4 separate regions of the Homo sapiens genome follow, and all the other regions are linked to region 1. The links are contacts of gene promoters, found by promoter capture Hi-C in human tissues and cell types (Jung and others, 2019). All regions are on one chromosome and are shown on one strand. Each heading gives the region's core, a stretch centred on a gene start or on the middle of the fragment in contact. The rest is flanking DNA. Distances are from core to core; before and after follow the strand shown.

The links. Contacts are between HindIII fragments. The study calls those that stand out against the background at their distance.
Region 2: a contact is called between a fragment that was not itself captured here and the fragment with the promoter of ARHGAP44 in region 1, in 2 of the 25 tissues and cell types used here (heart left ventricle and spleen).
Region 3: a fragment that was not itself captured here is called in contact with the fragment with the promoter of ARHGAP44 in region 1 in 4 of the 25 tissues and cell types used here (dorsolateral prefrontal cortex, lymphoblastoid cells, spleen and 1 more).
Region 4: a contact is called between a fragment that was not itself captured here and the fragment with the promoter of ARHGAP44 in region 1, in 2 of the 25 tissues and cell types used here (aorta and dorsolateral prefrontal cortex).

Annotation. Positions count from the first base shown.
Region 1 is chr17:12,784,615-12,791,372 of GRCh38, reverse strand. It overlaps ARHGAP44 (Rho GTPase activating protein 44), which reads right to left and starts at 1,875. Exons shown (of 21, transcript NM_014859.6): 1 at 1,482-1,875. The coding sequence starts at 1,534. It overlaps ARHGAP44-AS1 (ARHGAP44 and MYOCD antisense RNA 1), which reads left to right and starts at 1,089. Exons shown (of 2, transcript NR_104607.1): 1 at 1,089-1,230. RefSeq lists a silencer at 1,599-1,948. The HindIII fragment of the contact is 5,339 bases long and covers 1-3,903 here.
Region 2 is chr17:12,903,677-12,910,513 of GRCh38, reverse strand. ARHGAP44 (Rho GTPase activating protein 44) reads right to left here. Exons shown (of 21, transcript NM_014859.6): 4 at 1,541-1,617. Among named protein-coding and RNA genes, the nearest start is that of MIR1269B, 10 kb to the left of the region's middle. The HindIII fragment of the contact is 7,296 bases long and covers 1-6,837 here.
Region 3 is chr17:12,853,821-12,860,542 of GRCh38, reverse strand. All of the region lies in intron 1 of ARHGAP44 (Rho GTPase activating protein 44), which reads right to left. Among named protein-coding and RNA genes, the nearest start is that of MIR1269B, 60 kb to the left of the region's middle. RefSeq lists an enhancer at 532-871. The HindIII fragment of the contact is 5,749 bases long and covers 1-4,204 here.
Region 4 is chr17:12,674,999-12,681,325 of GRCh38, reverse strand. All of the region lies in intron 1 of MYOCD (myocardin), which reads right to left. The region is part of intron 2 of MYOCD-AS1 (MYOCD antisense RNA 1); the gene reads left to right. Among named protein-coding and RNA genes, the nearest start is that of MYOCD, 12 kb to the right of the region's middle. The HindIII fragment of the contact is 4,406 bases long and covers 1-4,278 here.

The DNA.
Region 1 (6,758 bases), core at 626-3,125:
TGCTAAACAACGAATACCAGGAAACACTATCTCGGCATCCAACACATCAAAAGGCAGTCCACGTGAGGCTATATCTGTGGCAATACCATGCCAGAAATCTGGGCTAATCTGACTCTGCTATTCATAAATTCCCCCTCATGTTAAAGCACATGTGTTTGGGAAGGAAAAATGAATCCAAGTCAATTTTAGACATTGTTACTTGGAAACCATCTGGAGTCCCTGGAAGCATAAGAAGCCACCGCATCCCCTGCCCTCAAATGCCCACTGTAACTAGGGCAGTATGCTCAGACGGGAGTTCAGATGTCCCCTATTCCCCAGGGATGTCCCCACCCCCATCCTACCAGATGCCAGTTCAGGCTCCACTTCCCACCCAAGAAAGGTATTCGGTTTCTCCGTAAACCTAGTGGAGAGCCCTCGAGGTGTTGAGCTTGCATTTGAACTGCACCCAAGGCTGGATTCTTTGCTTTCTGATTGCTTTAGAACAGCACACCTGAATTCCTTTGCCACAGCAGCAACGGAAATCCCTCCCCAGGAGTAGGGGTTCCAGGAAAAATCCCTTCTACCTAACGCTCCTGTGTTCAAAGAATGTCTAGTCTTGGGAGCGACCCACCAGGATTTTTATGTAACCTTAATAGATGTTGGCACCCTGCAGAGCCGCTCCTGGAGTCCAGATGTAGCCCATTTTCACCGTGATGGCAGCAGGCGGGGTCTTGCAGCTTCCCGGGGCCTGACTCTTCTGACTGTGGGGCCTCTGTCCCCCTCCCCTACCTGGCTGCGATTCTCTGCTTATCTCATCTTCCCGAGGACTTGGGCCTCCTTTTTGCAGCCTCCCTCCCTCCACTGAAATCAGTCCTAACATCAAGCAGGCAGCAACGCCATTCCACCAGCACCTTCCTTCCTCTCCCACCCCTCACCCTTTCCCCCCACCAAACGCCTTAAGAAACCCGGCCAGGAAAGTGATCCAGAATCTCGTACAGTCATAGTCCCTGAAAACAAACACGGCGGGAGGGGCAGGCCGACCAGGCCCAGCACTTTCCCTGGACCCGGGAGCAGCCCTGAACTCGGCGCAGGGGAGGGGAGGGAAGAGATCTCCGGAGACCGACTGCGGTTCGGCTGCCTCCAGCACAATCAGAGCAAACACCTGTTTCCAGGAAGACAGGCGGCCAGAGGGAGAAGGGAGTCCCGGGGAAAGGCAGGGAGGACGAAGCGAAGGGGCAGCCGGGGACGCAGGTAAAGGATGCGTCACACTTTGCGCTTGGCAACCGGAGCCCGGAGCAGAAGGCGGCGAGTGAGAAGAGCTCCGGGGTCTGGGAAGTTAGGGAGGAGGGGTCGCGCCTGCGAGCGGCGCCTGGAGGGAGCTGGTGCAGGGGAAAGGACTGAGGCAAGGAGGACTGGAGGCTGGGCGGGCTCCATCACCTGCGCGCCCCTGCGGATGCAGCCTCGCGGGCGCGCACCGACAGCGGTGCCCGCGGGTGACCTACCTGCCCACCGTCTGGTTGGCCAGCTGGCGCATGCGATTGAACTGCTTCTTCATCGTGGCCCCGCTGCCGCGCTAGCCCGGGAGCTGGGGAAGGACGGAGCAGCCCGGAGCCCGCCGCAGGGTTACATGGCTCCCGCGCGGAGCCTCCCGGGCGACGGCGGCGGCACTGCGGAGCCTCCGGGCGCCGTCTGGCCCGCGCGCAGCTCCCTCCCGAGGGCGCCGCCGCCTACTCCTCCCGCCGCGCCGCCTCCTGCCGCATCCCCCTCACGCGCGCCGCGCAATGCCCGGGGCAGAGCAATGCCTGGGGCCGTCCTCGGCACCGGCCCGCTCCGCCCGGGCTGCCTGCTCCCAGTCCCAGTCCGGCGCGGGGACCCGGGAGTCTCCGCAGGCTGGCTGGCCGGCTGGCCCGGCGGTCCCCGTGCGCCTGTGCGGAGAACGCCGTGCATGCCGGGACTTGTAGTTTCGCGCCCCGTGCCCACCTTTCCTCTGTCCAAAGTTTGCAAGGACAGTGGAGTGCGGAGGTGGGAGAAGGCAGCGTCACCAGCAGCTTTGCACTTTAGCGTTCGAGTAAGGGAAACGTTTTCCTGTTTTAAAAATGGCAAAGTGGGACCAAGAATACAACAGCAAATAAAGAAAGTGAGCATCTGTCTCTCATTGTATTTTTAGTGAATGTGAGGTATCAGTGTTCTGAATTCACAGAAGGGAGATTTATGCTAGCAGATACGTGGCTGATAAAACGGTCTAAGGTCACCTGATTAATGATGAGGTTCAAGGTTAAGCTTGAAACACAGGGGCTGACAGCAGATTTTGAACAGGCATAGCTTGCATCCCAGAAGTCTGATTCTTAATTTTTACCAAACCAAACCCATTAGGTAACCAGAAGCCAATATAGATAAGTGACGTTGTGCTTACTGGCCCAACCTGTCTGAGACAGCTTTTTTGTATGGCTTAGATGCCAATCTCGTATCTAGTCCCATTTCCCTTCCACCACCAGGAGACCAAGGGGCATCAGCTGCAGCACCCCCCAAGTGTCCTGCACCACAGCATCCCATTGGCGTCAGTTGACTCCTTGGAAGGGGTTGTGGCTTCTTTGGTCTCTATCCTTAGAAAAAGATAGGTGAGCCGGGCGCGGTGGCTCACGCTTGTAATCCCAACAGTTTGGGAGGCCAAGGAGGGTGGATCACGAGGTCAGGAGTTCGACACCAGCCTGGCCAACACAGTGAAACCCTGTCTCTGCTAAAAATACAAAAATTAGCTGGGCGTGGTGGCGGGCACCTGTAATCCCAGCTACTTGGGAGGCTGAGGCAGGAGAATAGCTTGAACCTGGGAGGTGGAGGTTGCAGTGAGTGGAGATCGCGCCATTGCACGCCAGCCTGGGTGACAGAGCTAGACTCCATCTCAAAAAACAAAAAAAAAAGAAAAGAAAAAAAAGAAAAAGATTGGTGATTGCAGTTAGGTTTTATCATTATATATCAAGGTTTTATCATTATATATCAAGTAAAAGCAGTATTGTTGGGTGTGAGGCACTTTGGATTAAACAGATAGGAGTTCCTGCATCAGAATTCCACATACCTGTTATATAACCTTAGGAAAACAGCTTAACCTCTCCAAACCTCTGTTTCCTCATCCCTAAATAGAAAAATATGCTGCCTGATCTTCAGTAAGAGAACTATTTGTTAAATTACAATAATCAAATTACATATAAATTTTCATATAGTACATTGCCGTATTCATTTACTACAAAATGATTATATTTAGCATAATAGAGAAAAATCCTGTTCATACAACAGAATTACTAATCTTATAAAGGAAGGATCTTCTTTGAAATAGGATATTTTGCATATGTTGATTATAGTTGCAAGATGTCCTAAATATGGCTCTAAGTATCTTGCTGGCTAGCTGAACAAAAAGTGGTTTGAGGCATGTCTTGGCTGAATGAACATGAAATCTTTAATTAATTGTGAATTTAGCCTCTGCTTATTAGGTCAGACAACTCCAGCCAGTGAATAAATGAAGGCATTATTTGCTTTTAACCAACTATGCTGTACCTATAATGTCAATATGATGTCTATATTAAGTGAAATTATTTCCATTTTGAGATTTTTTAAAAAGCAAAGTACAACATGCTTTTTATGTGTATAAACGGTAAGACATTAAGGTCACTGTATGACTTTTAGCAACACTATCTCTGGTAACTTCCAGAACTGCACTGTTGAATATAGTATCCCCTAGCCACATGTGGTTGTTGCAATTTAAGTTAATTAAAGTTCAAAATTTGGTTCCTCACTTTTGCACTGTTGGTGGGATTGTAAATTACTTCAACCATTGTGGAAAACAGTGTGGCAATTCTTCAAGGATCTAGAACTAGAAATACCATTTGACCCAGCAATCCCATTACTGGGTATATACCCAAAGGATTATAAATCATTCTGCTATAAAGACACATGCACATGTATGTTTATTGTGGCACTGTTCACAATAGCAAAGACTTGGAAACAATCCTAATGCCCATCAATGATAGACTGGATAAAAAAAAATGTGGCACATTTTCACCATGGAATACCATGCAGCCATAAAAAAGGGTGAGTTCATGTCCTTTGCAGGGACATGGATACAGCCATTAAAAAGGATGAGTTCATGTCCTTTGCAGGGACATGGATGAAGCTGTAAACCATCATTCTCAGCAAACTAACACAGGAACAGAAAACCAAACACCGCATGTTCTCACTCATAAGTGGGGGTTGAACAAAGAGAAAACATGGACACAGGGAGGGGAACATCACACACCGGGGCCTGTCGCGGGTAGGGGCAAGGGGAGGGATAGCATTAGGAGAAATACCTAATATAGATGATGGGTTAATGGGTGCAGCAAACCACCATGGCACGTGTATACCTATGTAACAAACCTGCACGTTCTGCACACATATCCCAGAACTTAAAGTTTAATAAAAAATAAAATAAAATAAAAACAGAATTTAGTTCCTCGGTCACCCAAGTCACATTCGAAGTACTTAAGAGCCACATGTGGCTAAAGGCTACTGTACTGGACAGCACAGATAAAGAACATTACTATCCTCTCAGAAAGTTCTACTTGTTAGCACTAATCCTCAAGAACTCTGGTAGCCAACTCCAATATCATGCCAGCCCCTGCCTTCAATCCCAAGATTTTTCCGTTCCAAAGGGAAATCCCTTTGGCAGCCTCCCCTGCCAGAGTGTGGTCCAATAATGTTTTATTAACTGGTGGCTTCTCCACAGATTTTCTGTCTTCCTTTGAATGCTTCCTTCACTCAGGAAGCAGCTAGTACATTTTCTGCTTTCTACCCCGGGGAAGGGATAATAGTGCAGAAACAAGAGCTTCAGAAACACATGTGACAGAATAGAGTTCTTCAAGAAAAGAGTTTTGAGTTTCCAGAATACAGGCTTTGGAGCTTTAATAGTCTATGTCAGAAATAGTAGATTATAAAGCATATATCATCCTGCTTAGTCTAAATAAAGAACCTACAGGCTGTGAGATGTTGAAGATGGTGATGGGGACTGGAAAGCGGGAGAGAAAGAGAGAAGAAAAGTAGATGATGCTTGTGCAGATACTATTAATGCCCAAAAAATTTCACTGCCAATCCCTATGGGAAGGACTCTATTTTACCTTACTGTTGAGGTAAAGATCGGTCATGTGATTTTCTTTGAACAATGAATATGCACAGAGGTGACTTTTACGCTTCTTCTGAGGGCAGAAGTTTCAGGAGTCATTTTGTGATCCTGCCCTCTTCTTCTTAACGCTGCCAATGAACCAGTTAGGGGATGCTGTGGAACAGTGATGTGGCCCCCCAGCAAAAGGTATCTTTGCTGTTTTAAATCAGAGGTTTGTTGCTGTAACATAATTGAGTCTAAGCTGACTGCTACAGTGGGTTTCTCTGAGAAAGTAGCATGCACCTTGCTTTTACCCATGGTCAACAATTAGGTTGGGGGCAGGCAGACTGAAGACAGATATATCATATCGTTTTGGGGCATCTGAGCACAGTGGAGAAGCTGTACACCACTCCTGGAGTGAAGGCTAGGCATGGCCAAGCTTGTGGAGATCCTCTGCCTTCTAAGACAGAGGACCAGTAAGACATCTATATGAAGTGCCTCAGGTACCCATACCACAGGCTAGTGGCAGCCCCAGAGCTCCCTGCACCCAAGCCATGTGCGATGATTTGGTGTCTGCATGTGTGCTGTGAGGATACACAAATGTACCTGAAACAGCTGGATGTGAAAGCTATTGAGATCAAAGATGATGATCAGGAGGAGGAGGCAGCATTGGCCAAGATGGAGATGGAATTGCCTAAAACTTAATTTTTGCCACCTAGAAGAATAGACTTAATATAAAATTTAAATGTATTTGCAAAAGAAGAGGAGGAGGTGAGGAAGGACGGTGGGAAGGGGAAAGAAGAGGAGAAAAGAAGAAAGAAATTTCTATGTCTTATATACCTAGCTTTGACCTATGGGAAGATTACACTTCCCTGCTCCTGTTGACCTTGACTTTGACCTTGTCACTTGCTTTGGTCAACAATATATGGGCTTCTTACTTGCTTCAGCAACATTGTAGTACTATTTGTCTGAGATATGTTCCCTTAGAAATCTGATACTCCATTTAGAATCCCCTGAATTAGAATGGTTTTAACCTCTACTCTGAGAGCAAGCATTCACTAGAGCCACCTGGCCAACATGGGAATCATTAGCTACATGTGGTTACTTAAATATTATTTTAAATTAGGTTAAATAAAACAAAAATTTCAGTTTTTCATTTCAAGTGCCCAATAACTACATGTGGCTAGTGGCTGCCGTAGTAGAGAATGTAAAATAACATTTTCATCATCATAGAAAGCTCCATTGGACAGGGCTGGTCTACAGAACAGAATTCAGAATAACCTCATGTGTCACTTAATGACAGGGATATGTTCTGAGAAATACATTATTAGGTGATTTTGTTGTTGCAAAAACATCATAGAAAGTACTTACACAGCCAGGCGTGGTGGCTCACGCCTGTAATTCCAGCACTTTGGGAGGCCAAGGCAGGTGGATCACCTGAGGCCAGGAGTTCGAAACCAGCCTGGCCAATGTGGTGAAAACCCGTCTCTACTAGAAATACAAAATTTAGCTAGGTGTGGTGGTGGGCATCTGTAATCCCAGCTACTCGGGAGGCTGAGGTAGGAGAATCACTTGAACCCAGGAGGCGGAGTTTGCAGTGAGCCGAGATCGTGCCACTGCACTCCAGCCTAGGTGACAGAGCGAGACTCCG
Region 2 (6,837 bases), core at 2,255-4,754, 120 kb before region 1:
TTGCGTCATTGCACTCCAGCCTGGGTGACAGAGCAAGAATCTATCTCAAAAAAAAAAAAAAAAAAAAGGCTACATAAGCCCATGTTCTATCCTTTGATCTACTCATCCCTGAGTTCTTCCATGTGTATGTACTACACATTTTAATAAAATTTATTTGCTTTTCTCCTGTTAATCTACCTTTTGTCAATCTAACTTTCAGGGCCCAACCAAAGAACCTAAGATGTTTAGAGAGAGGAAAAAAAAAAAAAAAAAAGTTTCCTCCCCTACAACACAATCTTTTTCCTACCTTGGTACTTGTACTTCTCATCTTTCTTCTGTTTCTGTGAAAGAGATGTAATCTATTTCATGTAGCCTTAACTAGTCCTTTCAGTGAGAATATGCAGGTAGTATCTTCTTCAAATCTGCCTGAAAATATCCTTACTCTTCCCTATTTTATCATAGAATACTAGGTTTCTTACATTTTCGCTCAATACTTGAAGATATTACTCCATTATCTTCTGGCATTCATTGTGGCTGACGAATACATAGTTTGTTAACAGTTTAATTGCTATTTTATAGTAATGATCTTTTTTCCCTCTGGTCAATTTTACATTTTTCTATTTTTTGTTGATAATCTGTGGTCTTACTACAATATGTCCAGGGATGCATTTTTTTCTTGTTGATCTCAATCAAATCATTTTGTGCTCCTTAAATCCAAAGACATGTTTTTCTTTAAATCTGGAAAAGAAAAATTCAACCACAAACTTACCTTTCTCCCTATTTTCTTCCTCAGGAATTCCCACTAGATGGAATGTTAAGCTTTTGCATTCTATCACCCATGTTTCTCAGTTTAAGAATGCCTACCTCCTTATCTCTGCACTTCATTCCCTTCATTCTGGGTGGCGGCTCTACATCTGTTTTCAAGTTCAGCAATTATTTATTTGTGTATAATCTTGAGTTTCTTTTGACTAAAGATCATTGAAAATTTTCAGCATAATTTTGGAAAGTTCTCTTTGGTTTGCCTTCAATCCCGCCTATTCTTTTTTAATATTGTTTGATTCTCTTGTCAAGGATTCTGTTTTTTAATTTTAAAATTTCCATTTAAATAATTGTTATATTTTCTTCCATATAGTTCTATTATTTTTCGTTCTCAGGGTACTGACTCTTCTACTGATTGTGTCTGCTGATGCTCTCTCATGACGATTCTATTTTCAGTTTGTTTTGTTGTGAGCTCAACATCGGCAAAGGCTGCTTTTCTGAGAATCTCGTAAGTTCTGACATTTGAATTGACAGGTTTCATATTTGCTTCTGCTAGGGCCCTAGGGATTTCAATTGTCCTTCATCAGTTTCATGTTAATCTCTCCACTTGGGCCTTGCCTCACCGCACAGACAATATGACTTTAGAGCCAAGAGTTCTGATTTCCTACTGGTAACATTTTCCTTTTTTCCACTAAAGTCCCCAGTGAGAATTCAGGTGCTTCCCTGAGAGGGTCTAGTCCCCTTTTCACGGATGGGGACTTACTTAGATTTGGCACCAAACTCACGCAAGGTGTCACCTTACCCAAGAAGTGTGTCATCTCCCAGGATAGCTGACCCCTCCATCAGACACTGAGCCAGTGTTGTCAAAGGCAACTTTTTCTGAAAAGAAAGCAAATGCTGTAATGAAAGCTACTTTCCATATTCATCTGTTGAATCTAAAATAGCAAAAAGTCAAATACTTGCCAAGGTATTATATTAACTATGAAACAAGCTAACTTTAAAATAGGTTTAAACATAGAAATTCATAGTGCACCATGATGGGTTAGACTTAGAGATGTCAAAATTCAGAAAACGAGAACTGAATTATATTTGCCACTTTGGGAAATAAGCCTAAGGCTTACATGCTGCATTTTAAAATGAGGTAGGATGGCAAGAAGGAAAAATGAGAAAAATTTAAAATGATGTTAACAAAGATTTGAGCAATGCCTTAATTTCCAAAAATAATATGTCTCTTAAGGAGTGTATTAGCCTTATTTTAAAAATGAGGCAGTGGCTGGGCGTGGTGGCTCACACCTGTAATCCCAGCACTTTACATGAGGCAGAGGCCGAGGCGGGTGGATCACCTGAGGTCAGGAGTTCGAGACCGACCTGGCCAACATGGTGAAAGCCCGTCTCTACTAATAACATAAAAATTAACTGGGTGTGGTGGTGCATGCCTGTAATTCCAGCTACTTGGGAGGCTGAGGCAGCAGAATGGCTTGAACCCGGGAGGCAGAGGTTGCAGTGAGCCGAGATTGTGCCACTGCACTCCAGCCTGGGCCACAAGAGTGAAACTCCATCTCCAAAAAAAAAAAAAAAAAAAAAGAAATGAGGCAGCTATGGTCAAAAAAGAGACAGAAAAGTGTTCACATGCAATTATAACCCAGAAAGAGTAAGCATGAAAATAAAGACACACTCCAAAAAAGATAGATGGCCAAAGAGCACATGAAAAGATAATTAACCTCATTAGTCATTAGGAAAACCCCAATCAAGACCTCACTTTACACTCACTAAGATGGCTATAATAATATTAATGCTTAACAAAGCAAAAAAAAAATAAGGATTGGTGAGCATAAACCTTCATGCATTACTAGTAGATGTTTAAACTGGTGCAGCACTGTGAAGGTGTACTTAGTATCTCAATAAGTTAAGCAGAATTATCACATGGCACAGCAATTCCACTCCTGGGTATATATCCAAAGTAACTGAAAACAGATGTTCAAAAAAGAGGTACACAAATGTGAAGAGCAACACTATTCACAAAGGCCAAAAGGTGGGAACAACTCAAATGTCCACCAATGAATAAATGGACAGACAAAATGTGGTATATCCATAAAATGGAACATTATGCAGCCATGAAAAAGGGAATGCTGCATGGTACAACACAGATGAATCTTGAAGACATCATGCTAAGTGAAATAACCTAGACACAAAAGGACACATATTATATAAATCTATTTAATGAAATATCCAGAATAAGCAAATTCACAGAGACAGAAAGTAGATTAGTGCTTGTCACAGGGCTGCAGGGGTGAGTAAAATAGGGAAGGACTGCTTAATGGGTATGGGGTTCCCTTTGGGGATGATGGAAACGTTCTGGAACTAGATAATGGTGGTAAATAGACTAACTGTTAAAACCACTGTACACTTTTAAATGCTACATTTTATGTTACAGGGAGGGAGAGACAAGCTGTGATAGGAGTTTAGCATGATCCGTTCCCCAGGCTAAATATCAAAGAGCTCTCTCCTTTCTGAACTAAGACCAGCCAGTACACACAGACAGAACAAAAACAAGGTAAGAACCACTAGCACCTTCTCAGGTCTTCCAGTCTACGTAGCTACAAAGGTAGTTCTTCAAAAAGAAAGTGACTGAACTACACCCAGCCCAGAGCCTCCTGGTGTTAACACATAGAGCGTTTCCACTTATAATTCATTTACTAATCCAATATTTATGGAGGGCAGGCACCAAACCAGTGATAAACAAAACTAGACACTGCTCTCATAGAACATTTTTCTTTTCTCTTTTCTTCTTCTTTCCTTTTTTTCTGTTTTTTTTGTTTGTTTTGTTTTGTTTTTTGATACAAGGTCTGGCCCTATCTCCCAGGCTAGAGCACAGTGTTGCAATCATAGCTCACTGAAGCCTCGAGCTCCTAAGCCCAAGCAATCCTCCTGCCTCAGCTTCCCGAGCAGCTAGAACTACAGGCATGCACCCCCATGCCTGGCTAATTTTATTTCTAAATTTTTTGTAGAGATGGTGTCTCACTATGTTTCCCAAGCTGGTCTTGAACTCCTCGGCTCAAGCAATCCTCCTGCTTTGGCCTCCCAAAGTGCTGGGATTGCAGGTGTTAACCACCACACCCAGCCACAGAACTTACTTCTAATGGTGAAGATAAATAATAAACATCATCATACTTTGCCCTAAGTTTACTCTTTTCATCTGGCTGTTCATTTGTATCCTTTATAATATCCTAACTGATAAATACAACTAAAGTGTTTCCCTGAGTTCTTCGAGCCATTTTAGCAAATTATCAAACCTGAGGAGGGGAGTTGTGGGACCCCTAATTTATAGCTGGTTGTTGAGAAATACCAGAAGGCTGGATTTGCAATTGACATCTTAAGTAGGGGCAGTCTTGTAGGACTGAGCCCTTAACCTGCGGGATCTGACACCAACTCCAGGTATACAGTGTCAGAATAAATTGCAAGACATACACCTGGTGTTCAGAGAGTTGGGGAACTGCTTGGTGTGTGGAGAAAATCCCCCCACACATGTGGTCACAGAAGTGTTATGTAAGTGTAGACAAACAGAGTCTGTTTTTCAGAGAAGCAGGCATAATATTCCAGTTGTAGCCTCACAGAGAGGGCATAACTTAAGGTATTGGTTCTCAACCAGGGGTGATTTTTGTCCTCCTGGGGTCATTTGGCAACATCTGGAGACATTTCTGATTGGCACAGCATGGGAGATGCTATTGGCATCTGATGGGTAGAGGCCAGGGATGTTGCTAAACATCCTACAAGGCACAGAACAGTCTCCTCCAACAAAGAATTACTAGGCTCAAAATGGCAATAGTGCCATGGTTGAGAAACCTGGTTTGATCTGCAAGTGTCTACAATACCTCAGTGACAAGTCAGTGAAGATGCTTCGTCTTGAATGTCAGATGGTACGATCATAGTATTGATGAGCTCACATAAAAAGACCATTCTGGTTTGTGATAAACATTCACAGTCCCATGACCTGCCATCAGGACAAGACTTCAGCATTTCTGAATCTTTCTGAAATTGGACAAAGAAGAGAGGATTTGCCTATAGTAAAGGGGACTTCTGATAGTCCAAGAGTTGACATCCTTTGAAGAAATACATCTACCAGAAGGTAAGTAGAGTTTTTCCAAATATGGAAAAAGACTAGTCAGATTATCCTGTCAGTGAGTGGAGCAGAAAACTGTGCCCAAGGGGGACCAAATGAACGAAGGTCAAGATCAACAGGACAAGACCGGCCACTGGAGGAACATGAGGTTGATCGGACTTTTGGAGGGAGGATGGAGAGGGGACAGCCAGGCAACTGTTCTGCAAAGTGCAGACTGGAAAACACAGTTTGAAGCTATAGGGCTGGAGGCACCCTGCTCCTGAGCCAAGGAAGCTACATTTTCTCATCATTTTGAGTCATTTAACACCTGCACTAATGATTTTGACATCCTCTTAGGTAGCAGAGAGGACAGAATTAAGTGAATTCTTAAGGGATATGCTTTTTAATTTTAACAAGGAGCATAACCTCTCCCTCCTGCCCTATCTCATTCTCTATCATATCTATTATAGGAAAAGAATTAATTTGCCAGTAATCCCAGCACTTTGGGAGGCTGAGGCGGGCAGATCATGAGGTCAGGAGTTTGAGACCAGCCTGGCCAATATGGTGAAACCCCGTCTCTTCTAAAAATACAAAAAAAAAAAAAAAAATTAGCCAAGTGTGGTGGCACGCCCCTGTAGTCCCAGCTACTTGGGAGGCTGAGGCAGGAGAATTGCTAGAACCTGGGAGGCAGAGGTTGCAGTGAGCTGAGATTGTGCCACTGCACTTCAGCCTGGGTGACAGAGTGAGACTCCGTCTCAAAAATAAATAAATAAATAAAACTAAAAGATGCTAGAGGATTTATAGTAAAAAGTCCCTCCCACACTCACTCATCCCTCAACCACTTCATTCCCCTCACCAAAGACCCTAATAGTGACCAGATTTTGTGTATCCTTTCATAAATATTCTAAGCAGATTCAATTATACATACATGTGTGTGCGTCTACTTTTAGTATTTCTCCCCACGTTAGCATACTAAATATACACACCACTCTGTGCCTTGCTTTCCTTTTCACATAGAGATAGATACCTTTCATATCATTTCCTATCACTACCTATGGAACTGTCTTGTTCTTTTATTTTAATGGTTACACAGATCATTGAATGAAGATGACAAAATGTATTTACTCAAGTACCCTACCAATGGTGTAACTGTCACTCTAAGAGGAGAGATGTTAAGGTGAATTTGAGAGCTTGGATTCCAAGGTGGGGGTAAGCTGGTGAAAATCAACATGAGTTTTTATTTGTGTAAATGCTTTAAGAATCAAGAAATTGGCCGGGCACCGTGGCTCACGCCTGTAATCCCAGAGCTTTGGGAGGCCAACGTGGGCAGATCATGAGGTCAAGAGATTGAGACCATCCTGGCTAACATGGTGAAGCCCCATCTCTACTAAAAATACAAAAAATGAGCCAGGCATGGTGGCATGCACCTGTAATCCCAGCTACTCGGGAGGCTGAGGCAGGAGAATCGCTTGAACCTGGGAGGCAGAGGTTGCAGTGAGCCGAGATGGCACCACTGCACTCCAGCCTGGGTGACAGAACGAGACTGTCTCAAATTAAAAAGAAAAAAAACAAAAGAATCAAGAAATTACAAGGAAGCCACCAAATGACAAGAGAAAGGAAGAAATGCGTTAGCAACCCCATAATCAAAGACAGTACGTAAGAAGAAGTTAATGGACTGTAACGCACAACAGACTACAAATGATTTCTCTTTCTAAAAAGATTCTCTAAGGTGAAGGGACTTTATCTGCTCAAGAGATGCCAGGCATTGTAGCAATCTCATATAACCTAAGATTGCCTCTAACTAAGATACTGTTTGCTCTCTCCCTCAAACTTTGGTCGCCCCCATTTCAAGTATAATGATATCCAGTCTTCTACAGAGGCATAAGAATGATACAATGGACTCTGGGGACTCAGGGGAAAGGGTGGGAGGAGGGTGAGGGATAAAAGATTACACATTGGGTACAGTGTACACTACTCAGGTGATGGGTGCACCAAAATAT
Region 3 (6,722 bases), core at 81-2,580, 70 kb before region 1:
AGCTTCACCATGTTGCCTAGCACTGGAAATGCTGGAGATAAAACTTAGGCTACTGATGACATTCCAACTTTGCTTCCCTCTGAAGGTCACAGCTTTTGAAGAAAGAGGAAACACCAATAAATGGAACAGCCAAAATCCATGGATAGAGGGTGCTATATAACAAGCCTGCACTTTCCAGACAGTTATCTGACAAGAGACAAGAGGGTATATCGCAAATGCTATTGTCAGGAGCCTTGTTGACCTTATAAGGAATTCTTTAAAGTATAAATTGAAGTGGGGAGGGAAGAATAGCTATATAAAACTGAACAGCTGGATAATGTCAATGTATTAATTATATTTTCCTACTTTCTATATTCTTGATGCTGTGGCATTTGGAGTCTGTGGACCAAAGAAACTGCCCCTCCCAGGATTAATTAATTCCTAGAGGTAACAAGTAACTCACTTGTGGGCATGCCTTTGATATGCCAACCAACTACTTGGAGTCCAGCCCTCCAGGAGTCTGCTTTTCTGCTAGGCAGTTCTTCTGCCCTAATCTCCACGGAGCCAGGTACAACTAGGGACCACCCCTATAGCCCAGAGCCTGCTTCATAGTAAATTTTTTTTTCATGAACCACAGAGATTTAAGCTTGACAGTGAACTTCTGCCACGTGTTGACTTTGCTTTGCCCACTCCTTTCGGTGTTAACTGCAATCAAGGCTAATGCGTGCAGCTCCCTCTTTCCGTGCCTGCTCATGTGGCTTTGGTGCTTTCCCGTGTGGCCCTGAATGGGCTCATGTGCTTACTGTTTCTTGGCGACTGCGAATGTAATAAAACACTTCTTCCTTCCTGGCAATCGTTTTTGCATCTGTGTGTATTATACCTGCTCCAAACAAGTCCTGGGTACATTTATAGAACAGCAAAAGATGGCAGATATGACTCAACAAGAATAACAATGAGACATCTCAGGAAATATTAAGAGAGAATAACAGAAGAGTCAGGAAACAATCTTTAGGCCCCAGCGCCAAACCAAAATGTGGGCAGTAAAGCAAACTCGAAATCTTAAGTGATGATGAGAAGATGGCTTTTCACACTGACTGATGGAGAAACGGGTTCATGCCAGGAAAAAGGGGGCAGATCTAGGACTTATAAAAGGCTCCTGTATTAGTTCCCTATGGCTGCCATAATGAAGTACCACATGCTAGGTGGCTTAAATAACAGAAATTTATTGCCACACAGTTTGGCAGCCCAGAAGTCTACATTCAAGGTGTCAGCAGGGTTGGTTCTTCCAAGGGCTGTGAGGGAGAATCTGTCCCAGGCCTCTCGCCTAGCTCGTGGTGGCTGCAAGCATTCCTTGGCTCGTAGATGGCATTCTCCTTATGTTGTCACGTCATCTTCTCACAGCACATGTCTGTCTCTGTGTCCAAATATCCCATTTTTATAAGGATCCACAGTCATATTGGATTAAAGCTGATATGGTCTGGCTGTGTCCCCACCCAAATCTCATCTTGAATTGTAGCTCCCATAATTCCCATTCACTGTGGGAGGGACCCAGTGGGAGAGAATTGAATCATGGGGGGCAGTTTTCCCTATACTGTTCTCGTGGTAGTAAGTCTCATGAGATCTGATGGTTTATAAGGGGTTTCCCCTTTCACTTGGCTCTCATTCTCTCTTGCCTGCCACCATGTAAGACGTGCCTTTCACCTTCCACCATGACTGTGAGGCCTCCCCAGCCATGTGGAACTGTGAGTCCACTAAACCTCTTTTTCTTTATAAATTATCCAGTCTTGGGTATGTCTTTATAAGCAGCATGAAAATGTACTAATACAAAGGCCCACTCTAATGGCCTCATCTCAATTTAGTCATCTGCACAGACCTTGTTTCCAAATAAGCTCACATCCACAGATACTGGGGGATTAGGTCCTCAACATCTTCTAGGGGAGATACAATTCAGCCCACAAACCTGTAAGAGCTTCCTATCCCTGGGAGTTATTTTTCTTTAGTTTATCCTAATTTGCCCCCTTTTGCTACTTTCAAGGTAAAACCCAAAATGCCCAGATAAGGCTGTGGACTTAAACTTTTTGAAAAGGGCCTGAGAAGGTTGATTTAGTCTGACCTCATGCTTACAGATACAAAAGAATCCTTGCACACCTGCAAGATCCAAGCCAATGTGGTCACAACTGCAGCCAGTAATCTGCAGACTTTCTTAATCATCCATCCCAGGTAACTGAGGTGACAGTGAGTAGGGGTGTGGTTGGAGGATTTTAGAGTCCACATGACTAACAGAGGGCAGGGTAGGTAAAGAAAGGGAAGGAGATGGGGTTGCTATATACACAGTTCCCATATTTGGCTGACCTGGGTGTCTTCAGAATAGCAGACGTGGTTGGAACTTTCCATTCACAGGATTTCTGTGCCCACACACTATGGACTAATACGTAGCCAAAGGCTTACTACAGACTTGGCATAAGACTTAGTCCTGTTCTTCCTTCCAACTGCGAGTAAATGCTGGTATCTCAAAATATACATATACAAGAACCTACTGGGTTCCTTGCACAAGAGTATCAGTGGTAAGGGGATGAGCAGGATTAGTGGCAGCCAATCCTCAAGCCACTAATAGTGGCTAAGGTGGTCTAGCTTATTAGTGATCCAAGTCCCCAAAAGCAGATCTTGTCCCAAATCAGACATAATCTTTAGCAACACCTAGTGATATCTGCTAACTAAATCTGCAAGTCCCCTTTGGAATGGGGCAGGATATAAATAAATAAATAAATAAATAAATAAATAAATAAATAAATAAATAACATGGGCAACCGAAGCAATAAAGTTTGTGGTGGTTGGGGTATCCTGTTATGGAAAATACGGTCACTAGTCATTTCCTATAAAAGACATCTAGCTCCAAGCTATTCTACCATAATAGAATAACTTCACCAGGACAACTGCATGGGAAGGCCATCTTTTTCTTCCCCAACTTTCATGTGCTGGAAACTTAATTCCCAAATTCATTATGTTGATTGGAGGTGGGGCCTTTGGGAGATAATTAGGACTAGATAAGGTCATCAGGATGGGGCTCCCATGATAGGACTGGTGGCTTTATAAGATGAGGAAGAGTGTCTTGAGCTGACATGCACACTCTTGCTCTCTTGCATGTAACACCCTCTGCCATGTTATGACACAGCATGAAGGGCCTCACCAGATGCTAGTTCCATGCTCTTAGACTTCCCAGCCTCCAGAACCATGAGCTAAATCAACCTCTATTCTTTATAAATTACCCTCTTTATTCTTTATAAAATACCCAGTCTGTGGTGTTCAGTTAAAGCAACAGAAAATGAACTAACGCAGACCTCATCAGCCACTTCGGCCTAAGCAGGAAGGATTTAACCAGATCCTTGCACATGAACAAGCACCCAGGAGAAGGAGATGAAAGTGGATTGCCAGGGACTTGGAACAGAGGTCTGTATGATGATTAATGGCTTTGCACTAATTAGCAACATGTCATTGAGGTTTAAAGTGCTGAGGCAATTTATATATATCTAAAATGTGGCAAGAGGTGGGAAGAGAGAAATTTTGCTTGAAAAAAGTATGTTCATTATACTTCTAATGACATATTATTTTCAGAATACAAACTACAGAAAGTAAATCTCAAAATGTGGGAAAGGACAGGGATACACAGAAAGAGCAACAAGAATGCATTATCATGATCAGGGTCTTTATTCATTAGAAAGCACCAAAACAAACATTAAGCTTTCACTAAGCATCAGATTGTTAAAGCTCGACATTCATTTAACTTTCACAACAACCCCTGAGGTCAGGACTATTAATAACATCATATTATTGATGGGGAAATTGAGGTTTTGGCAAGCTTACAAAACTTGTCCAAGGTCACAAAGCTTGGAGAAGCAGATTAGGAACCCAGTCTGACCTCAGAGGTCACTTTCATAACCCGTATGTTATAACAGCCTTTCAAAAGTTTAGAAATGCAGGCAATCCCCAAATAAAAACTTCTATGGGGAAAGATAGTGAGGACAGGCATGCAAAAATAAACTTCCCTTATTTCACAATTGCCTAGGGCCAACTTCCGATATTTTCCTACATATAGTCATACTGCTTTTAAAAAATAGTAGAAAATTATTGCTCTAAGCCTACCTGTAGGGAAGCAGAGAAGAAGGGTATTTATCTGCCATGCTCAACAGACTTGAGATTCATCTGCCCTAAAACCTCTGGAAGCAGCCACCCCAGAGACAATGTGACAACTCTCATCCCTGAAGCCAGAGTTGATTGAACAAGGTAGGATGCACAGTTTACTAGATTCCCCTGGGATTTTAAAATAGGAGAGGACAGTTAGTGGGGCTAGACCTGTAAGGGCCAGTGGCTTCAATGGACCATCTACAGAAAAATCTACAGGAATACAGGTGGTGAGGACAGAAAGACAGAAGAAAATAGGAGATGTGGCCCCTCAGCTATGGAGAAGCCTTGGCTCCCAACAGTGGTTTATCTCCCATTGCGGGGATACCGGCTATCATTAGGGTGTAGCATCACTAAGAATGTCTACTGCTGAGTCCTTTTAAGAAGCTTACTTTTTCTTAAAGCAGATTGAGGGTTTTGTGTTGTTTTGCCTTTTGCAATCCAGGGCCTTACCTGGAGCTCGACCACAAGCATGACTTTTTTATCCAGACACCCTGCCCAACGCATTTCAAAGCCTTATATCCACACTGTCTCTGTTATTTTTGTTTCTGTGTTACAATAACATCTTCCATTTAGTGCCAGAGCTCTGCTAGACACTTCATCACACAAGTGTTTCTCAAATCTTCAACATTAATCGCTCACTTAATTGGACTTCTGTAGACAGACACTCAATTTTAGACAAATTTTAATAAACAGTCCAAAGAAGTATGGGAATTGGGAATAAATATAACTGGGTCCATTGGTTATTCAATAAATAGTTTTGGGGCAATTGGATATCCATTTGGATATGTTCCATTACTCTGACCACCCACCCAGAAAAATAAATAGGAAATGAATTAAATTAGTTGTAAAAAAAAATAAAATGCTGAAAAAAACATCAGGGGAAGAAAATGAAGATAATGTAGAATCTTATGGTGAGAAAGGCCTTCCCAAGCAGGACTCCAAATTTAGAAATTGTAATGAAAAAAAGAAAGACTTCCTGACACAATTTTCTTACATTGCTACAAGATAAATGGTATTATAATAAATGACAAACAATAGACTGGAAGAAAATATTTGCAACTTACACAACAAAGGACTAATTTCTCTTTGCAAAGGTCCATTGTAGGGTTTATTTGTTTGTTTGTTTATTTATTTATTATCTTTAGAGATGGGGGTCTCACTATGTTGCCCAGGTTGGTCTTGAACTCCTGGCCCCAGAGATCTTCCTCTGGCAGGGTTTATAAAGCTCGAGGTGAAATATGAAAGAACAATGCTGAGCAGATTTCTTTTACCCACCCAGTGTGCAAGGTGGTCTTCTACTGCTGAACACCTAAAGTAATCCTAAAGCCTCCCCTTCCTGTCCTTTCTATATATATCTATATACATATACAGACATGTGTGGACATAGAGACACTGCTTCTTTTTTTTTTTTTTTTTTTTTTTTGAGACAGAGTTTTGCTCTTGTTGCCCAGGCTGGAGTACAATGGCATGATCTCGGCTCACCGCAACCTCCGCCTCCTGGGTTCAAGCGATTCTGCGGCCTCGGCCTCCCAAGTAGCTGAGATTACAGGCATGCGCCACCACGCCTGGCTAATTTTGTATTTTTAGTAGAGACGAGGTTTCTCCATGTTGGTCAGACTGGTCTCGAGCTCCCAACCTAAGGTGATCCGCCCGCCTCAGCCTTCCAAAGTGCTGGGATTACAGGCATGAGCCACCGCGCTCAGCCAAGACACTGTTTCTTTTTGGCATAACGGGTTCATATCCTCTGCACTGTTCTGTGACCTGATGTCTTCCATAGAGCATGTCTCAGAGATCTTTCTATGCATCTACTTGTAGGTCCACCTCACTTTCTTTATTAGTTGTGTCAGAAACCACTAACTGTATCATCATTCTTTTATCTTCTCCAGTGGACATTTGTTTCCAGTGGTTCACTGTTGTAAATGATGTACCCATCAACATCTTACACATTAATCTTTCTGCATACCTGTCATAATATTGTCAAAGGGGGGAAAAATGGTTAGAAACTCTCTCTATATGATATCATTCTAACTTAGTTCAGGGGTATGGTACGCTTTGGGGAAAAAAAGACCACAACAGATCAGGCCACTCTCAGTACAAGCCAACCTTATGCCATCCCTGTTCATAAGTAGCTAGCAGTGCTAATTCTCCCTGCTTGGTGTGCCTACAGAAGCTGTTTGAAACTGCAGTTTTCTTCCTGCACCCTCCTGTGCCATCTCCATCTGGACTGAGGTCATCTGGGAAGGGCTCTTGCAAGGCTACTCATCACCACCAGGAGACACGGCACTTGTTTCTAAATCCAGCCTCCTCCCCACCTGCCTTTTGTTCTGCCAAGCCACAAGGCAGCCTGCCTTGGGGAGACTGAGGCATGCCTGCTACAGCTGAGAAGGAATCAACAGGAAATAAGGTGAGAAATCAGGTCTGCGGGAACAGAATGAGCTGGGGCCAGAACACATGGAAATGGGGAATTGGGACAAGAGGCAGATTAGAAGCCAGGCAGAGGTAAATGAAGAGTCCACTAGGAAGAAGGGAAAAGGAAGGGCAGGAGACAGAATGCTCCAGAA
Region 4 (6,327 bases), core at 826-3,325, 110 kb after region 1:
TAACTCAAGACACTAGAGGAATAGGGAAGAAAAACCTCAAGTGGAAATGCCTTACGATGTCACTAAGAGGGCAGAATCCACAATTCACATGCTCACCGGGAGGATGGGGTGGCAAAGTCAGATGGCTCAAGCCAGCTCTGACTGGTTCGGATACTTGTGCGAAGCAGTACAGGGTAGCAGTCACAAGCATGGACTTAGAATCCAAAGGTGCATGAGATCAAGTCCCAGCTTTTCCATTTACAAGGCATGGGATTTTGAGATAGCTCCTTCAGCGCTGGAGGCTTGGTTTCTTCTTCTATGGATGGGAGGACTGTAACAACAGTACCTCCTTACAGGATTGCTGTAAGGATTAAATTAGTTAGCACACGCAGCAGGCATGTGAGCATCAGATAGTTCTTGGGGTGCTCTATTGGGGTGTAGGGAACCTCATCAAAACCCTCTCCAAGTCAGGGAGGACTGGGAAGCAGCTGACAACACTGTCACTACAAGTGTTCAACTAGCACGGCTGTTCAGCCGCGGGGAACTTTTCCTTCCATCACAAACAGGTCCCTGAAGTACAGAACAGAAACTCGGCAACTGACATAAACAATTTCAAACAATAATTTCAGAAGACAAATTGCTCCATTTGGGCACCAAGATTCCTCTCTGAGGCTTTCCCCACTTGTTTATGTATTCTGTGGCACAGAGCCATGAGTGAATTAAGCAGACAGCGCGCACACACGCCCGGGGCCGGTGGGAGGGGCCTCCGGGAAAAGGACCTGCCATTTGACCTGCGTTCCTTGAAAGCTATTGCTGCAGAGATGCCTGAGACAAAGGGACTCAGATTTACGCCTTCTTGTGTTCGCTTGTTCATCGAGAGAGGCCACAAGATTGGGTGCCAGGAGATCTGAGTTCAAGTGCTTCACCATGCTGTATGTGTAAATTCGGGCAGGTCATTCCCGTTTCTATACCTTAGTTTCCCATCCCTGTAAGACAGACGTCATTATACTCACCTCTAGGGTAATTATAGTGGTCAAATTAAGAGCCCTTTATCCCTAATAAATTACCATACGAAGATTAATGAGGTTAACCGTGGGCATCCACTAAGTAGCTGAATAAAAATTAGATATAAAGGAGAATTAGAGTTTGGAAGAAAGGGTGTATTTTATGAGGCAAAGAAGTTCTTCTAAAATTAAGAGGAGAGTCTTCATTCCATGGGGCTGTGGTTCTTGAATACAGGTTTACGTTCTTTTGAGAGCCTAAGTGAAGCTTGTGATATATACTATTCTATTATAGCATTTAAAGCATGTATTGCCTTTTCTGACTATAAAACAAGTGCGTGTTCATTATAGAAAATTTGAAAAATGTATAAAAGTTTCAGGATGAAAGGCAAAATTAATAGGAATTCAAGTCTGCAGAGATAAGCAGCACCTGCTAATACTTTGCCTTTTTTCTTCTGATTCATATACCTGAACATGGATATAAAAAGGTACCTACCCTACAATTTCTCAAGAATTGGGACTATATCATATGCAATTCTGAAACCTCCTTCTTGCATTGTAAACATCTTTGCATCTCATGATCCTCTGAAAACACGATATTTAAAGTGCATGTTAAATCCCATTTTTTATGTATTTAAATATTTTCTTTTTGTTAACCAACTCCAGTTTTTCCCTCGGTGTTACTGTAGCACATATACCACTGCAAAGAGCATCCTCAAAGATAATCTTTACCTCTCTCATACTATATATATGTTATATATCATATACAAACATATGCATATACATATATATAAATGTAGGTATATTAACCATTCTTTAAATGTTAGAAAATAATCCTGGCTCTACTGTTAGACACAAGGTTTTGAAACAACCAAACATGATGCTTGAGAATACTTTCTGTCTCTGGGACATTCTGTAGTGTCATGCTCTAATCTATGTGTTAAGAACACAATCCTTTGTGAAGGCTGCATTTCTACTAAGCCAGGGATTCCTTTGCTATCCCTATGCCTCATTCTGTCCTCCTCTCCCAGCCAATCCTGAGTTACATTTGCTGAATTTCCATCTCCCCTTCTCATCTAATTCTTTCAATCTTGAAGCCAGTGCAGATGGCTACCATGTTAAAATAAAAAATTAAATTAAAAAAAAAGCTTTAAGCAGACGGACTGTTAGGTTGAGAGAGGAAATAGGTTAAATGCCAGGCATCTGCCTATCTGAAAAGACCATGTTCCCTTGGGCTGCGCATTTCTCTGGGGGACCATGTGGTAAATTTGGTTTTGCAAGCCCCGAGACGAGAGTTCTAGGTCTGAATCTGCTGGGTGACCTTGAGCCAATTTCTTAATGTTTCTGGAAACTCAGTAACCTCATCTGTACAATCAAACTTGTAATCTCACAGAATTGGTAGAAAAATATCACGAGGTCAGGAGATTGAGACCATCCCGGCTAACACACTGAAACCCCATCTCTACTAAAAAAATACAAAAAATTAGCCAGGTGTGGTGGCAGGTGCCTACAGTCCCAGCTACTTCAGAGGCTGAGGCAGGAGAATGCCATGAACTCGGAAGGTGGAGCTTGCAGTGAGCCGAGATCGCGCCACTGCACTCCAGCCTGGGTGACAGAGTGAGACTCCATCTCAAATAATAATAATAAATAATAATAAGAAGAAAACAAAAAAATAAAAATATTAATGAATATGATCTTTTTTGGTGGGGGAGAGAGTTGAATACATCAAAGAAATAAGAGGTGCTATAATTTGGCAGACTGCCTCCAGCTGTCTATCCTCAAAACTTTGTTTTCTCTCTCTCTCTCTCTTTGGTTTTATATTTAGACAGAACAGCATTCTCAATTATAAGAGAAGAGGATCTGGGCTCAGCCATGAGCCTTTGCTGGTCCTCATAGCATGTAATGATCTTGCTGAGACCCAGACAAGGCTTGGCACTGTCTTCAGAGGCATCAAAAGACCAGATCCAGAATAAAAACCACACCTCACCGGAGAATAAGTTTAATTATTATGCCTTTTCAGTTTTTTTTTTTTGAAAGGAAAAGAATAAGTGATGATAGATATATAAAACACTTTGCAAAATACAATATAAGTTATATAATGACAATAATTATCTTCATAACTCTCAAGCACAATCTGGGGTAAAAAGAAATGATAGGCTGGGCGCGGTGGCTCACACCTGTAATCCCAGCACTTTGGGAGGCTGAGGCGGGCAAATCACGAGGTCAGGAGATCGAGACCATCCAGGCCAACATGGTGAAACCCCATCTCTACTAAAAATACAAAAATTAGCTGGGCGTGGTGGTGCACGCCTGCAGTCCCAGCTACTCGAGAGGCTGAGGCAGGAGAATCGCTAGAACCTGGGAGGCGGAGGTTGCAGTGAGCCAAGATGTTGCCACTGCACTCCAGCCTGGGGACAGAGTGAGACTCCACCTCAAAAAAAAAAAAAAACAAAAAAGAAAGAGAAATGATAATAGCTGGGCAGTGAATCTTAAGAGAAATTCATGAGAGGCTGGTCATTGTGAATTTAGAATCAATATGATATCTTATAATAACATAAATAATTGTAAATTAACATATCAAAGCATATTGATATAAACATTGATATGAGAATTAATATACACTTTTTTTTTTTTGAGACAGAGTCTCACTCTGTCGCCCAGGCTGGAGTACAGTGGCGTGATCTCGGCTCACTGCAAGCTCAGCCTCCTGGGTTCACACCATTCTCCTGCCTCAGCTTCCCTAGTAGCTGGGACTACAGGTGCCCGCCACCATGCCCGGCTAATTTTTTGTATTTTTAGTAGAGATGGGGTTTCACTGTGTTAGCCAGGTTGGTCTCGATCTCCTGACCTCGTGATCCGCCCATCTTGGCCTCCCAAAGTGCTGGGATTACAGGCGTGAGCCACTGTGCCCGGCCTATAAGTTTTTTTTTAATTTTTAAGTTTAGGGGCACATGTGCAGGATGTGCAGGTTTGTTACCCAGGTAAACGCGTGTCATGGGGGTTTGTTGTACAGATTATTTCATCACTCAGGTATTAAGCCTAATACCCATTAGTTATTTTTCCTGATCCACTCCCTCCTCCCATCCTCCACCCTCCGACAGGCCCCAGTATGTGTTGCTCCCCTCTATGGGTCCATGTGTTCTCATCACTGAGCTCCCACTTGTAAGTGAGAACATGTGGTATCTGGTTTTCTGTTCTTGCATTAGTTTGCTAAAGATAATGGCCTCCAGCTCCAACCATGTCCCTGCAAAGGACATGATCTCGTTCTTTTTTATGGCTGCATAGTGTGAATTAAAGTATAATTAATATTCATGTGTGAATAAGATAGCTACCATTTATTGAGTACATCAGCACATCCCTGCACTATGTCAAGCACTTTTTATATGCTTTTCCACTAAAACCTCAAAAATTTCCAATGAAGGAGGCATTCTTGTTTCCACATTTACACATAGAAAAGTAGAGGGTTGAGAGCTTAAAAGCATGCACTCGAGTTCATATCATACAATCAATAAGGATGGAGGCCAGGATTTGAAGCCAAGTCAGCCAGATGGCATACCTATACCACATATACATTGAGATTTTCCAACAAAAATTAATAGCAGAGTTGTGGGTTTTCAGTCTCTTAGCTAAGAAGCAAGTTTCATTGGTTGTATTTTGAGTTGTGAGCATGACCCAGGATTAATGAGAATTTGAGAACAACTTAAACCTCCCATGGCCTCAGCCAACTCCTGATTTAGCTGCTATGCAAATATGGTATTGTTAACCCACTCCCCATCACTCCATATCTTAAAAAAAAAGGCAAATAATACTCAGTATAGGAGATACTGGATAATTGTAATCAAGAATATAAGAAAGAACATAAGAAAATTTAAAAATTACTGATAATCTCACCACCCAGAGCTAATCATTTTGGGAATGGATCCCTCCAGGCTTTTTTCCATGCATGTGCTTTAGCACTTTTGGTATGTTTTGATTCTCAACTTGTTGGGATTAAAGTTTTTTAACTTTTAAAAGAAATTTCTTTTTTTACTGTCTTATGGTCAAGACATTTCTGTGTGTGTGTGTGTGTGTGTGTGTGTGTGTGTGTGTGTGTGTGTGTGCGTGCGCGCGCAGGGGGAGGGTGCTAAGTCTAAAATTGTATTCTATATCAAGTAAGAGGATTAAAATATGTAATCAAATTTTATTTAGTGTCCACGTCCTCTAAATCTTCACTTAAATCTTTGCCTACTTTATTAAAGACTTACAGATACGTTTTTTTTTCCCCACCACTATTAGGATGTCAATTTCTTCTTATGTTTTAGGCGTATTTAAAAATTATGTAGATACGAATACAGTTTTATTTTAAAAGATGCAAATGGTAAAGGAAAGATAAGGTCTTGCTCTCTGTACCCATGGATACCATAATGAACAGTTCTACTTATATCTTTGAAACTTCTTTTTTCTGTGTACTTATATATAAATATGATTGATTGATTGATTGATTGATTGAGACGGAGTCTTGCTCTGTCACCCAGGCTGGAGTGCAGTGGCGTGATCTCGTCTCACTGCAACCTCCGCCTCCTGGGTTCAAGCGATTCTCCTGCCTCAGCCTTCCAGGTAGCTGGGACTACAGGCTTGCGCCACCAGTGCCAGGCTAATTTTTTGTATTTTTAGTAGGGACGGGTTTTCACCCTGTTAGCCAGGATGGTCTCGATCCCCTGACCTCGTGATCCACCCATCTCGGCCTCCCAAATTGCTGGGATTACAGGTGTGAGCCACCGTGCCTGGCCAATACTTTTTAAAAAACATAAATGAAAATATGTTGCCGGATTGTTTTATAACCTGAATTTTAAAAAATTAATTCTACGTTTTGGAGATCTTTTCACATCAGTTCATATAGAATTTTATCATTTCTTTTTGCTTTGCATTGTGTTTTATTGTATTCTATACTGTGAATATATTGTAATTTAATGAATCGTTCCCTTACAGATGATGTTTATGCTGTTTCCATCTTTTTTAGGTTAGGCATTATAAACTGTGATAAAATTGTATCTGTTAAGACTTTACAGTATGGATAGCTCACCAACACGATAGGTGTATCTATGTCTTCATGCCTATTCAATACTCGATATTATCAACATTTTAAAATTTTGCTAATTTGAAGTTTTTAAAAAATAGTATCTAGATCTTTCACTTTGCATTTTCTTGAACGCTAGTGAGTTGAGTATATTTCATATGCTGACTGATTATTTTCTCCCTTGAATTGTCTTTCCCTTAGGTTGTTTGCTTTAAATCTTATTGTTCATATAAGTCCTTTTAATAATTTTGTCTCACGTATATTTTCAAGTATTTTTTTCAATCTACAGTT